Regions from separate parts of the Homo sapiens genome. Here region 2 is linked to region 1. The links are contacts of gene promoters, found by promoter capture Hi-C in blood cells and fetal thymus (Javierre and others, 2016). All regions are on one chromosome and are shown on one strand. The core of a region is centred on a gene start or on the middle of the fragment in contact, and the rest is flanking DNA. Distances in the headings are between cores, read along the strand shown. Region 1 holds the start of UBE2C (ubiquitin conjugating enzyme E2 C). Region 2 holds the start of TOMM34 (translocase of outer mitochondrial membrane 34).

The links. The method cuts DNA at HindIII sites, captures the fragments that hold promoters and counts their contacts. A CHiCAGO score of 5 or more calls a contact.
Region 2: a contact is called between the fragment with the promoter of TOMM34 here and the fragment with the promoter of UBE2C in region 1, in 1 of 17 cell types (erythroblasts). The highest score is 7.7, in erythroblasts.

What each region holds. Positions count from the first base shown.
Region 1 is chr20:45,809,244-45,815,867 of GRCh38, forward strand. UBE2C (ubiquitin conjugating enzyme E2 C) reads left to right here and starts at 3,401. Exons shown (of 6, transcript NM_007019.4): 1 at 3,401-3,553; 2 at 4,194-4,221; 3 at 5,141-5,227; 4 at 6,298-6,502; 5 at 6,611-6,624. The coding sequence starts at 3,453. DNTTIP1 (deoxynucleotidyltransferase terminal interacting protein 1) reads left to right here. Exons shown (of 13, transcript NM_052951.3): 12 at 1,642-1,697; 13 at 1,814-2,175. The coding sequence ends at 1,952. RefSeq lists an enhancer at 1,007-1,176 and a silencer at 3,204-3,393. The HindIII fragment of the contact is 3,801 bases long and covers 683-4,483 here.
Region 2 is chr20:44,959,147-44,965,954 of GRCh38, forward strand. It overlaps TOMM34 (translocase of outer mitochondrial membrane 34), which reads right to left and starts at 1,251. Exons shown (of 7, transcript NM_006809.5): 1 at 1,061-1,251. The coding sequence starts at 1,187. It overlaps LOC124904912 (a long non-coding RNA gene), which reads left to right. Exons shown (of 2, transcript XR_007067599.1): 2 at 1-391. STK4-DT (STK4 divergent transcript) reads right to left here. Exons shown (of 3, transcript NR_038341.1): 2 at 6,416-6,539; 3 at 4,648-6,302. RefSeq lists enhancers at 180-269, 1,050-1,099, 1,110-1,199 and a silencer at 1,430-1,509. The HindIII fragment of the contact is 1,710 bases long and covers 311-2,020 here.

The sequences.
Region 1 (6,624 bases), core at 2,151-4,650:
TTGGCTGTGGGTGACAGCCTACCTCCAAATCTGACTTCCAAAGCCTCACCAATGTGTGAGAAGAGAGACTTATAAGGCCTATTTCTTCATGCTGAAGAGCAAATTGTAATCTTCAGGTTCCCTTCCCTATCCCTAGGTCTCCCTTCCGCCCCCTCACACTTTTACCTCATGCCTCCAAGATCACATATTTGGATACTATTAGCTGTCCATAGGAATAGCAGGTATAAGACACACAGTACTACTTTTTCCCACTACTGCACCCACTGACAGATTTCACTCATTGATCACTCTTCCACCAGACACAGCTATAGAATCTTTTCTCAACACAGTACTTGAGGCAGCAACCCTTGTCAGTAGGAGTTAGCAATGAAATGTGTTTGCACACTTGGCAGCCCCTTCCAGATTTACCTCTACTTGAAGAGTTCTCAGATCATATGAAACAGCAACCTTAGGAAAATCATCATTGCATGTGTTCAAAAACTATTGTTGAGGGCTTTGTCCATCACACACAATGTCCCCCACCTGAGGACTCACTCACTCCCACCACAGGTACTGCTCCTTTTAGAATCTAAGTGCCTTACAAACTGATATGCCATCTCCTTTCTGGCAGTGAGAGCTACCTTTTATTTTATTTTACTACTCTATTTATGCCTATGCTTTACTTCAAAAAAGATTTCAGGTAAGCTTCATGCACATAAAATGCAACATTACATAAATAAGAAATAGATGGTAGGGGGTGGGGGCAGGACCTAAAATTAAGCCACCAGTAAAAGTAGTTCTTTAAAAAAAAAAAGTGTTTTTTATATTGCTGACCTGGGAGACCTGTGCACTTCTACAGATGTTGGCAAATTCAGCTGTAGGCCCCACTCATGGACACCTGATCTGTTATGGTTCATAGTGCCCATAAGATGTAGACAAATTACTCAAGGAATACACAATTATTCCTGACCCTAACATTAGAAAGTCTCCCACAGAAGACTTTCTAATATGATGAATATCTCTTCCTATATGTTAAGTTCACAAAAGGGCCCTCACCCACTGTAGACCGAGGCATTGTGACAAAGCATTTCTACAGGCCCCAGTACAATACAGGCCAATTACTAGACAGCAGAGCAGTTTATCATGTTTTCCATTTTGCCACAAAGTTCAAAACCAAGTTATCTTTGTCCTCAGAGGGAGCACATGGTTTCCTCTTCCTGATTTCCTGTTTCCATATATATTTTGCTGGCTTTCTTGCCATTTTGTTATAACCCACCTTGGGTCCTTTCGTATACTTGATCTTAACCAAAAGGTGTAGGAGCAATGGTGGATCCCTTTTTTTTTCTTTTTTTCTTTTTTTTTTTTTTTTCTTAATTTTCACCACACCATTCAAGAGAGAAATGGGTCCTTTTTTAAAAGAGAAGGCTATAAATAAGTCACCAGTCCCTACTCTCCCATCCATGAAGCATCTACTGTAGTAAAAGATTGTCTCAAGGAACCATTCCCATCCCTCCCCACTTACTCTTCCGTACTAAATTGTAAACCGCATCCCCCGCTTCCACCTAGTAGCAGGCCTTACATTAAACAGATGTTTAATGAAGTGTTACTGAGTTGGAGTGAAATGAATCAGGCAATGACCACTCTCCCTTGCTCCTGCCTCAGGCCTACCTCCTCATCGAGGAGGACATCCGGGACCTTGCGGCCAGTGATGATTACAGGTAAAACCAGTGGGTCTCCTGCCCCTTCTCCTCTCCCTGCCTCCAAATAGCCCCTAGAATGAGGCAGGGCCTACATCCTCACTTCCCCCAACTTCTCTCTTCAATGTCTGTTCCAGAGGATGCCTGGATCTGAAGCTAGAGGAATTGAAATCCTTTGTCCTACCCTCCTGGATGGTGGAGAAGATGAGAAAGTATATGGAGACACTACGGACAGAGAATGAGCATCGTGCTGTTGAAGCACCTCCACAGACCTGAGGCCGGGTCCCCTGGCCACACTTGGCAGCCCTCCTCCAAAGCCCTCTTCCTCACGTGGCTGAGGCCACCGCTGGGACTGCTCCTAGATGGATCTCAGCGGCATTAAGCTGTGCCTGAGCGAGTTTGTAGTGACTCACTGCACAGCACCCCCAGACTAGCATGTGGTTCTATATTTGTAAAGTTATTGGGATAAGAAACAATTAAACAGTTTGTAGTAAACACAGATGGTGAACCTGCTGTGCCCTCTACCTTGTGGGAATTGACAGAACATCAAGGGCTCTAGAAGTGGGTGTAGGAAAAAAGGACGAGATAACCCTCACCCATAACAGTATAGAGCCAGGCTTGATAAGACCAACCTGGGAGCACCATGTACCCTGCCCGTCTTCCCTTTGCCCATTTGTAGTTTCCTTACCCAGCTAATGTAAGGACATGGCAGAATGCGATGGAGTTTGATGACAGATCATATGAAAAATAGAGTTGGCTTTTATTGCTCCCATTTTACAGGTTAAGATACTAAAGGACCCGCCCCAAGGTTACACACTACCCACTGGGGAGGTAGGATATACAGGATATGAACCTGTGTTGTTGGGGTTTTTGTTTGTTTGAAGACAGTCTTGCTCTGTTGCCCAGGCTAGAGTGCAGCCTCTGGCTCAAGCGATTCTCCCGCCTCAGCCTCGCCAGTAGCTGGGACTACAGGCTCGTGCCACCTCACCAGCCTTTTTTTTTTTTCTTTTCTTTTTTTTTTTTTTTCTTTTAAGTAGAGACAGGTCTCCCTATCCTGTTGCTCAGGCTGGTCTCGAACTCCTGGGTTCAAGTGATCCTCCTGCCTGGGCCTTCCAAAGTGTTCGGGATTACGGACGTGAGCCACTGCGACCAGCCTGAACCAATGTTGCCTTTTTTTATTTCTGTCATCTCTGCGGAGATGTATGGACCTATGTTTTCTAATAGGGAGCCTGCTGCTCTGGCCATCAGCCTTTAGTTTTTCCCCTCGCTGGGATTTTCAGATACTTAGGACGCAGCAAAGGTGCCCAGGCGATTATAATGGTGGGAGGGTACCAGTGCTGCAGGATTGGAGGCACTCCCTGCCCGAGGGAAATTGGATCAAGGCTGGGCGTGCCGAGTGTTCCCACGCGGAGTAAGACGTGTAGCCAGAAGGAGGGGTTCATCCCACGTGGACGTTTTCTTGGCCCTTTAATGGTTAGCGTTTTCCAACGGCCACCAATTCGCTACGGATTCGTTAGTTAATGGCAGCATCATCTACCAATCGGTTGTCAGAAGCGGGATTCTGCCGCCCAATAGCGGTGCGCCAGTGGGTAGGTCTAGCAGTGGCGCAGCAATAGAGCGCTCCGGAGCGTCTCATTGGCTGGATCAAACCCAAGCGAGCCATTGATTGGTCGACGCCCCCAGAGGGTTACAATTCAAACGCGGGCGGGCGGGCCCGCAGTCCTGCAGTTGCAGTCGTGTTCTCCGAGTTCCTGTCTCTCTGCCAACGCCGCCCGGATGGCTTCCCAAAACCGCGACCCAGCCGCCACTAGCGTCGCCGCCGCCCGTAAAGGAGCTGAGCCGAGCGGGGGCGCCGCCCGGGGTCCGGTGGGCAAAAGGTGAGTGATGCGGCCTACCACTCGCCGGGCCTGCCATGCCCTAGGCATTGGTACCCAGAGCAAAGATTTCTAGGACCACCCCCCGCCGCCACCTCCTGGAGCGGGAGATCTGCGGGTGCAGGAGAACACACCAGGAGCTCGGGGCCTGGCATTCCCCTGGGCATGGGTGTCGAGGGCGGAGACTTCCGGGACTCCCACCTCCTTGCGCGGGTGAGATTCGAGAGATGGGGGACAGGCCAGGAGCTCAGACCGCTCTTTGAGACTCTCCCGAAGGAGAATGGGAGGGTAGGGGCGCTGCCAGACTCCTTCCCTGGTGGGCCTAGATGAAGACGCTCAAGGACCCTCGTGACTTGGCCGAGACAGGGGAAGGGAGAAGTTGAGTCGGGCAAGGAAGAGATGCTAAAGCCTGGGGAATTAAGAACATGCCAGAATCATCCCGAGGGAGTCTGGAATTAGGGAGGGTGAGGACTCGCTAGGATCGTCCTGTGGATCTGGTGAGTATACCCTGAGCTGAGCCTGACCTTGGTGATGTGGGGAGCCTCCATGACGGCTCCCCCTGAGATTCAGGTGGGAGAAGATGCACCGTCTGGAGGCCTGGCCCATCCAGACTCCCAGGTAACCCCGAATACTCTTTTTTCAGGCTACAGCAGGAGCTGATGACCCTCATGGTGAGTGATTAAGTGCCCAGAACCCCAGCCTTCCATCCAATTTTCAGTAGCCTCCTTTTTTCCGTCAGCTTTTTTGCTAGACATAGGGGTAATGTAATTTGCTCCCTCCTGGGAAAGAAGTTCATACACCCCACCTACACCATTTCTTCCAGCAGTCCCTCCTCCCAATTCCATCCCCCCACACGAAGTTATCTCGAACACTTCCCTGAAGTCATACAAGACCCTCCCTATCCAGTGTGTCCCTACTTCCTAGCCCCAACCAAGCTTTACCCACACCCAACTCCCCGCCCTTCTTGGTATTTCTAGCCTATGAATTTGGTTGCTTTATTTTGGATCAGAGTGATGAGATTAAGGGGAGGCTGGGCGCGGTAGCTCACACCTTATAATCCCAACACTTTGGGGGGCTAAGGTGGGCGGATCACTTGAGGTCAGGAGTTCGAGACCAGCCTGGCCAACATTGCAAAACCCTGTCTCTACTAAAAATACAAAAATTATCCAGGCATGGTGGTGCATGCCTGTAATTTCAGCTACTCGGGAGGCTGAGGCACAAGAATCATTTGAACCGTGGAGACAGAGGTTGCGGTGAGCCGAGCGCACCACTGCACTCTAGCCTGGGCGACAGAGTGTGTGTGTGTGTCTGTCTCTGTCTATCTCTCTCTCTCAATCTCTCTCTCTCTCTCTCTATATATATATATATGTAAATATATATTTTTTAGTAGAGATGGCATAACCCCATCTATATCTCATATATATACACATATATATGTGTGTGTGTATACATATATATGTGTGTGTGTGTATGTGAGCATATATATATATATATATATATATATATAAAATTAAGGGGAAAGCTCACCCACTGACCTTTGCTATGCCCAAAAGTGTACTCCACATTCCAACAAATGTGTTTTCTCCCCAGATGTCTGGCGATAAAGGGATTTCTGCCTTCCCTGAATCAGACAACCTTTTCAAATGGGTAGGGACCATCCATGGAGCAGCTGGAACAGTAAGTGTAGGGCTGGGATGGGTGAGTGAGTCTGGGGAAAGGTGGGAAGTGAGATCCAAGTGCGAGCTCTGCTTCAAGCCTTTGGCGGAGCAAGACACTCCTCCTGTGACTGTTTACATTCTCTGAGCCATGTGGCCTTGTTCTTTCCCTCTGTGCAATAAAGGGTGGGTTTAAAGCAGGGCTGCCTATCTTAGATGTTTACATGGGGGGACAGACAGCAAGGAAATGGATGAAGTGAGGACTTTGGCCAATAGGGCCAGATCTCAAGAAGGCAGCTTCCCATTGCTGCAGATCAGGTTTAAGATGAGTCAGAAGTCCAAATCTGTGCCAAATCTAATTTTTACGTATTAGCAACTAATATTCTTTTTTTTTTTTTTTTGAGACGGAGTCTCGCTCTGTCGCCCAGGCCAGACTGCGGACTGCAGTGGCGCAATCTCGGCTCACTGCAAGCTCCGCTTCCCGGGTTCACGCCATTCTCCTGCCTCAGCCTCCGAGTAGCTGGGACTACAGGCGCCCGCCACCACGCCCGGCTAATTTTTTGTATTTTTAGTAGAGACGGGGTTTCACCTTGTTAGCCAGGATGGTCTCGATCTCCTGACCTCAAGATCCACCCGCCTCGGCCTCCCAAAGTGCTGGGATTACAGGCGTGAGCCACCACGCCCGGCCAGCAACTAATATTCTAATTGAACTAAAGCACAGGATGCCAATTTACAATCCTTAGACCAAAGAGTCACTGATGTCTCCACCAGATAAGAGGAAAGCATCAGGCTAGGCATAGTGGCTCACACCTGTAATCTCAGCACTTTGGGAGGCTGAGGCAGGCAGATCACATGAGCCCAGGAGTTTGAGACTGGCCTGGGCAACATGGTGAAACCCTGTCTCTAAAATAAAAACTAAACTAAAAAAACTTTTTAAAAAGGCAGTGGGGAGCATCAGAACCAGCTCAACAGTTTGTCTACTGTCCGGTCCCAGAGAAACTCAAGATTCTAGCAAGCCCCTTGTGTGGGGCTTGGGTTGGGACATGAGGCTGCTGCTGGAGCTTACTCTGCAACTGTTTCTCCAAATGCCAGGTATATGAAGACCTGAGGTATAAGCTCTCGCTAGAGTTCCCCAGTGGCTACCCTTACAATGCGCCCACAGTGAAGTTCCTCACGCCCTGCTATCACCCCAACGTGGACACCCAGGGTAACATATGCCTGGACATCCTGAAGGAAAAGTGGTCTGCCCTGTATGATGTCAGGACCATTCTGCTCTCCATCCAGAGCCTTCTAGGAGGTGACTTTAGAGACCACCCCTCCCCTCCATGCAACTTGGGAACCTGTCAGGACTCCCTGGGGTCAGCCTCTTCTACCGCCTTGACCTTCTCTTTCTCTCCACCCACAGAACCCAACATTGAT
Region 2 (6,808 bases), core at 1-2,500, 850 kb before region 1:
GATCGTGTCTAAAATGTCTAGCACATGGTAAATCACTCAAGAGATGCTAGCCAAGAAAAGGAAAAAAAGGAAGGCGGCAAAGGGAAATAGGTACTGAACGGTGACTCACAGAAACCAGGATCCAAGGCTCCTTTCAAAAGTCAAGGCTTTAACCAATGAGGGTTTCTGATTAAGTCACCCTGGAGAAGGGGCTTTGGGCAAAGGTCTGCGGTATGCTGACGAAAGCTGGACGCTGGGAGAACTGGTAAGAATATGCTATTCTTCTGTTTCAAACTCTCCAGTAGCTTCCCATCCAGCAGCTTTCATGCCAAGCTTCCAGTTTGGCATGAAATCCGAACTCCTTAGCAGAGTTTACAACACCTCCACAATAAATAAGGGTCTGCCTTCCTAACTGACCTCATGTCTTCCTATTCCCTGCCCTGGCTCACTATGCTTTGACCCCTGAAACACACCATGTTTATATCGTCTTGGAGGGGGGGCCTTTCTCATTGCAGTTCACTTCAGGACCGAAAACCTTGTGCGCTTGGCTTCTCATCATTTAGACATCACCTCAAATATCACTTCTTTACAGATGTTGCCCTTGATCTCCCACTCCAGTCAACTCTATCACATCACCCTATTTGTCTTCTTCCTAACCCTGATTATCCCACAGGTCTCGTTTACTTACTGACTCGCTTAAGACTCACGTCCTCCCCACCGCCCCCACAAGAATGCGCTGTCCTTGAGAGAAGGGACTTTTTGTGTCTTGTTACACAGGCGGTATATAACAGCTACTCAACAAATACTAACTGAAAAATGAATTGCTGCGGGGGAGGAGGGTTTAGCTTTCTTCTCAGGGCTCAGAACGAGGCCTAAATAACTTAGGATGGGGGCCAACAGGGCAGTTAACAAGCAGGTGGAAAGAAAGGGCCGAGGAAGTTTCTGGTAGGATGCCGGAGTCGGAAGGGGCTGGAAGGGTGGGAGGGCCGGGCAGGACTGCTGGCCGCCGCGCGAGGCCCGGGCGGTGGTTGCGGGAGTTGGAGGAGCAGGCCCGGAGGTGAGATGGGGGCCGGGGTCGTACCTTGCGCCTGCAGCACCCGCAGCGCGCGGCCGTAGAGCGCGGAGGCCTCGGCGTACTGGCCGTTGCGGAAACTCTCATTGCCGGCGGCGCGGAGCTCCTCCACAGAGTCTGGGAATTTGGGGGCCATCCCGTGGCCAGGCCGGCGAGTTGGGAGCTCCTTCCTTCCTCCCCCGTGTGGTGCGGCACACCTTCCGGGCGCAAGCGCCGGCGGCGAATATCTCCGCCCAACAGCGAACCCGCGGCGAGGGGGCGGGGCCTGCGAGACCTGGAGGCCCGGAGCGTCCCGCCCTCTGCGCGTGCTCGGTTTGGAACTTAGGCTCCCTTGCACGCGGGGCGGCAGCATGCTCTGGGCTCCCTGAGTTGCTAGAACGCCGTGGATGACGCAGGGAAGGAGGCTGGCCCCGCTATCAGGGAGATTATGTCCTAGTGGGGTCCCCACAGGCAATTAACTGATAAGCAAACGAAGACTCTCATTTCATGTGATTAGTGCTGTAAGGAAAACAAAACAGGATAATGCAATGGAAAGTGACCACGTGTGGGCTATTTTAAATAAGGGGATGAAGGAAGGCCTTTCTCAGGGGGTAATAGTTGAGCTGAGACCAGACAAGATTTAGGGAATGCTGTTCCAGCCAGAGGGATGGTAAGTGCAAAGGTTCCAAGGCTAGAAAGTACCTGGTACCTAGTGCTCTATAGATATTTATTTAATAAATTAATGCACAGGTGGATTGATGGTGTCAAAGTCAACATATAGAGATGAATCTCTAAAGTTTAAATATTTTATTTGGCAATCAAGAATTGCAATTCAGGGCTTACACACAGACCAGGTTGTCTTTGGTATGTCAGAAGAACAAAGAGAAGGTTTGGAGATTTTTATAAAACAGAAATGTTACATATTGCTCTTCAAGGAAGTTTACAGGCACTAGTAAAGTGGGGGTTTATCAGCTTCTTGGGGAGCTGGCAAGCTTTGATTGGTAAGTGATAGTGGTGGATAAAACTCAGAATTGTAGCAGGCTGTTTCAGTAGCTATTAGATAAAACTGGTTTTAGGTTACAGCAGGCAGTTTTAGCAGCCAGGCTTGCAAAAAATTACTTTTTTGGAGCAATGTTATATGCCCTGAGTATTTGTTCCCCTGGCTTTTCAATTCTGTCTTAGTTGGATATGACAAGAATGACCCAATTCGTATGATCAGCTTTCAGAATGGATGAAGATCTTTCACAGAGTGTGACTTCAATTTATCTCCAGCCTCATCTGACGACTCTATGTCCCACGCATTGCTATCTACACACACTAAATTCTTGCTTCCTAGCCTTTGCTTGTTATCTCCTTCTCCTGGATTTTTTTTTCTAAATACTTTTTCTCCTGCCTAATCCTGAATTAACTTATAACATTCCATTCAAACATCATCTTCTCTGAAAGCCTTTCCTGCTTCCAGCCCCCTCCCCACCCCCCACTATGCTCCCTTTGCTCCCTATTGGTCTCTAGCTTTATCCCTAACTTTGCATTAGTCACCCTTTGATTGCCAGTTTGTAGTTTTCCTTAAACACTGCGAGGTCTTTAATGGCAGGAAGTGGGTCCTTTTTATCTTTGTTTATCCAAGACCCTAATAGGGTCTGGCATCCAATAAAAGTCATTGATTGATAAAGATCTAGTCTCTACCTTCAGGAATTCAGTTATAATGATCTGCATACACTTAACTCCACCAGACTATAAGCTTTCTGAGGGCTGGATGGCTGTTCCATCTGAAATGCTTCCCCTTGCCCTCTGCCCCGACCAAGGATGAACACTGACTGTGGTGGGAAAACCAGATGAGGCCCATGCTGCTGGCTGGCTACTCAGTGACTTCCATCTTTGCTTCCAGGAGCCTGAATTTTGCCTGAGACTCTCCCAGCCTGGGGAAGTGAATCAGGATTGCTCTAAGCCAATTAGAAAAATGTCATTTTCTCTTGCCAGTGATTCATCAAGGGATGCACATGTGATGCTGATCTGGGCAATGAGATAAAAGGGAGTCTGAGGCTGGTCGCAGTGGCTCACATCTGTAGTCCTAGCACTTTGGGAGGCCGAGGCGGGTGGATCACAAGGCAGGAAATCGAGACCATCCTGGCTAACACAGTGAAACCCCATCTCTACTAATAATACAAAAAATTAGCTGGGGTGGTGGCACGCACCTGTAGTCCCAGCTACTCAGGAGGCTGAGGCAGGAGAATAGCTTGAACCCGGGAGGTGGAGGTTGCAGTGAGCTGAGATTGCACTGCTGCACTCCAGCCTGGGCGACAGAGCAACACTCCGTCTCAAAAAAAAAAAAAAAAAAAAAAAAGAGTCTGCTGAGTGTTTATGGGAAAGGTTTCCCTCCCCATAACAGAGAGGTACTGGGTCAAGTAGCCATTCTTGCTCTTTTTCTGCTTTGGGTAGTGCTGGGTTAAGGATATGATACCTGGAGGTGTGGCAGTCATTTTGCAACCATGAGGCAATAAACACAAGTATGAAAAGCCAACATGCTGAGTAGGATGGGAGGGGAAAAAATGAAATAGATATTGCTGAGTCATTGAATCAACTGCTGACTTATTAGCTTATTAATAAACAATAAAGGCAAGGTGTGGTGGCTCACAGCTGTAATCCCAGCTCTTTGGGAGGCCGAGGTGGACGGATCACTTGAAGTCAGGAGTTTGAGACCAACCTGGCCAACATGGTGAAACCCCATCTCTACTAAAAATACAAACAGTAGCTGGGCGTGGTGGCATGCGCCTGTAATCCCAGCTACTCAGGAGGCTGAGGCAGGAGAATTGCTTGAATCCAGTGAGCCCAGATCACTGGGCTGCTGTGGTCCATCCTGGGCAATACGGCGAGACTCTGTCTCAAAACAAACAGTAAATGCCATGGTGCTTTAAGCCAACATTTAGATGTTTTCACTTGCTTGCAGCTGAATATTTCCTGAGTGGTTTATCGGATAAGTGTAGCTGTGGCAAATTTTATTTTCCAAAAATGGCCCCAATAATATTTCTGGTTCCCCAAGCTCTTCCAGACCCTTGCCACTGCCCTATGAGGAGGTGGAGTCTGCATCCCTTCTCCTTGAAACTGGGTGGGCCTTTGTGGCCCCCCTCCACAGTGGTAATGACATTAAGTATCTTCCACTAAAAGGCACTGCAGCATCCCACTTGGCTCTCCCTCGGGAACATGCTTTAGAACCCAGGCTTTATTTTGTGAGGAAGCTCAAGAAAAATGGAGACGCCCCTAGCCTTCAGACCCAAGTGAGCTTCCAGCCAACAGCTAGCACCAACCTGTCAGCTGTGTGAAATGCCTTTTGGACAGGGCTGATTGATCCTGATTGACACCATAAACAGAGATGAGCCTTCCTGCTGAGCCATGCTCAAATTGTAGATTTCTGAGAAGAAAAAAAGACTGTTGTTCTATGCCTATAAACTTTGGGGTGGTTTCTTACACAGCAGTCAATACCTGGAAATCCCTTCCTGCAGTGCTTCCTATAAATGCCAGGACTGATAAAAACAGTACTGAAATAATTTGAAGGAGGGACAGATGAGAGGGTCAGGGGAGGGACAAGGGAACAGAGAAGTCTTCTGGGAAGAGGTGTCTTTTTTTGTAAAATAGCTTTATTGAGATATAACTCACATATTGAAAGTGTACAATTCAATGCCTTTTAGTATATTCAGAGTTGTATAACCATTACTACAACCAATTTTAGAACATTTTCATCACCCCAAAATGAAATCTCACACCTTTTAATCATCCCCTCCAATTCACCTATGCTCCCTTCCACCAGGGCCTTAGACAACCACAAATCCACCACAGGATTTGCCTATTCTGAACATCTCCAAACCTGCCAAAGCTATGCCATTAAAAGGCACTACAGCAAAGAGCATCATGCAACTTGCATCACACTGGGGGCCTGGCACAGAAGTGGCGGTGGTGGCACCAGGCAGGGCCTGATCCACGGGGTCCAGGGTGACCATGTGGGTCATGCAAATGGCATTACACAAATATGCCATGCTTGGCTAAGTTTTTTGTAGAAAAGGGGTTTCACCATATTGCCCAGGCTGGTCTCGAACTCCTGTTCTGCCTTGGCCTCCAAAAGTGCTGGGATTACAGGTGCAAGCCATCATACCCAGTCCCTTGAATACTGTTATGCAATTGTTCCCCATTTTCTGCCAGGTGTTGGTTTGAGGATCTATTAGGATACTAAAATGTGAGTATACTCATGTACTATAGTTGACCCTGCAGAACCTATGGAAACGAAAAGTCAGCCCACCCTATACACAGGTTTCACATCCCATACTGTATTTTCCAACCATGTTTCATTGTGGATGTGGAACCCTCTGATAGAGAGGGCTGACTGTATTTATTGAAAACAAAACAAAACAAAACAAGGGTTGTATTGGTGGACCCATGCAGCTCAAACCCTTGTTGTTCCCAGGTCAACTGTATATCCAGAGCTTATAGGAAAATACCTCTCCCAGTAACCCTGCTCACCATTTCTCTCTTAAGCTATTATTATGATTAGCCACGGTTTGCTATTTAAATTTAAATTTAAATAAAAATGTGGCCTTTCAGTTATGCTAGCCACATTTAAAGTGCTCAATAGCCATATGTGGCTAATGGTTACTATTTCGGACAGCACATATTTAGAACATTCCCATCATTTCAGAAATTTTCATTGGGAACACTCTGCGGAAAAAGGGGGCCATCATAATGTGAGTCCATCTTCTGGAAAAATCCTGGGAAGGGGACAAAGGAGGTCTGTTTGGCATTGTGTAATGGTAATTTGGTATTTAATTTTCAAAAATGTTTACCCAATTCCTATTCATCAGCCAGGTGTGGTGGCTCTTGCCTGTAATCCCAGCACTCTGGGAGGCCGAGGTGGGAGGACTGCTGCAGCCCAGGAGTTTGAGACCAGCCTGGGTAATAATAGGGAGATCCTGTTTCTACAAAACACCAAAAACAAAACAACAACTTTGATGTTGTGGAGTCAGGACAGTCCTGGGTTAAAACCTTTGCTCTCCTTAGCTGTGTAAACCGTGGGTCTCAGCTTTCTTATCTGTTAACGGTAGGTACTTCTTCCTAGGGCTGTTTTGAGGATTAAGTGAAAGTCCAAGATTGTGTCTGGCACACAGTAGCTTCTCAGCAAATGTTTTCCTCCTATGTCAGGGAATGGCTCCTTTATCCCGTTTTGGGCCCATGGGTGGCCCTGAAGGGTGGGTGCTCAGGTGTTAAGTTCTGTAGATGGCATATCCTTGGGAAAAGCAAGGCAATTAAAAACAGTGAGAGGTTGCTCTGGTTAAGTTTTCTCCTATAACTTTCCCCATGGGTCAATTGGGTAGAATCTGCCATTTTCCTAATACTTACTGATGGTAGTGGCATTCGGAAGCACAATAGCTGAAGCCGGAGCTCTGAGTGGAGAGAAAGGTCTGTTTCTCAGGCCCAAAAAGAGGTTACACACCCATGGCTGTCCAGTTTGGTGGTGCAGGCCCTGAAATCAGACCAAACTGGATTTAAATCCCCAAACCTATACTCTAAGCTATGTGACCTTGGGCTAGATACTTCACCTCTCTGGCCTTATGAAGTAGGAATAATAATAATACCGTCTAGGTTGTTAGGAGTATTAAATGAGGTAAAGCACTGAAAACGTTTAGGGACTGTGTTAAATCATTAAATAAATAAAAACGGGGATGACCTTATCGGCTTGACACAGGGGATTAAATGAGATAATATATGAAGACAAGTACACGGCAAATGCTT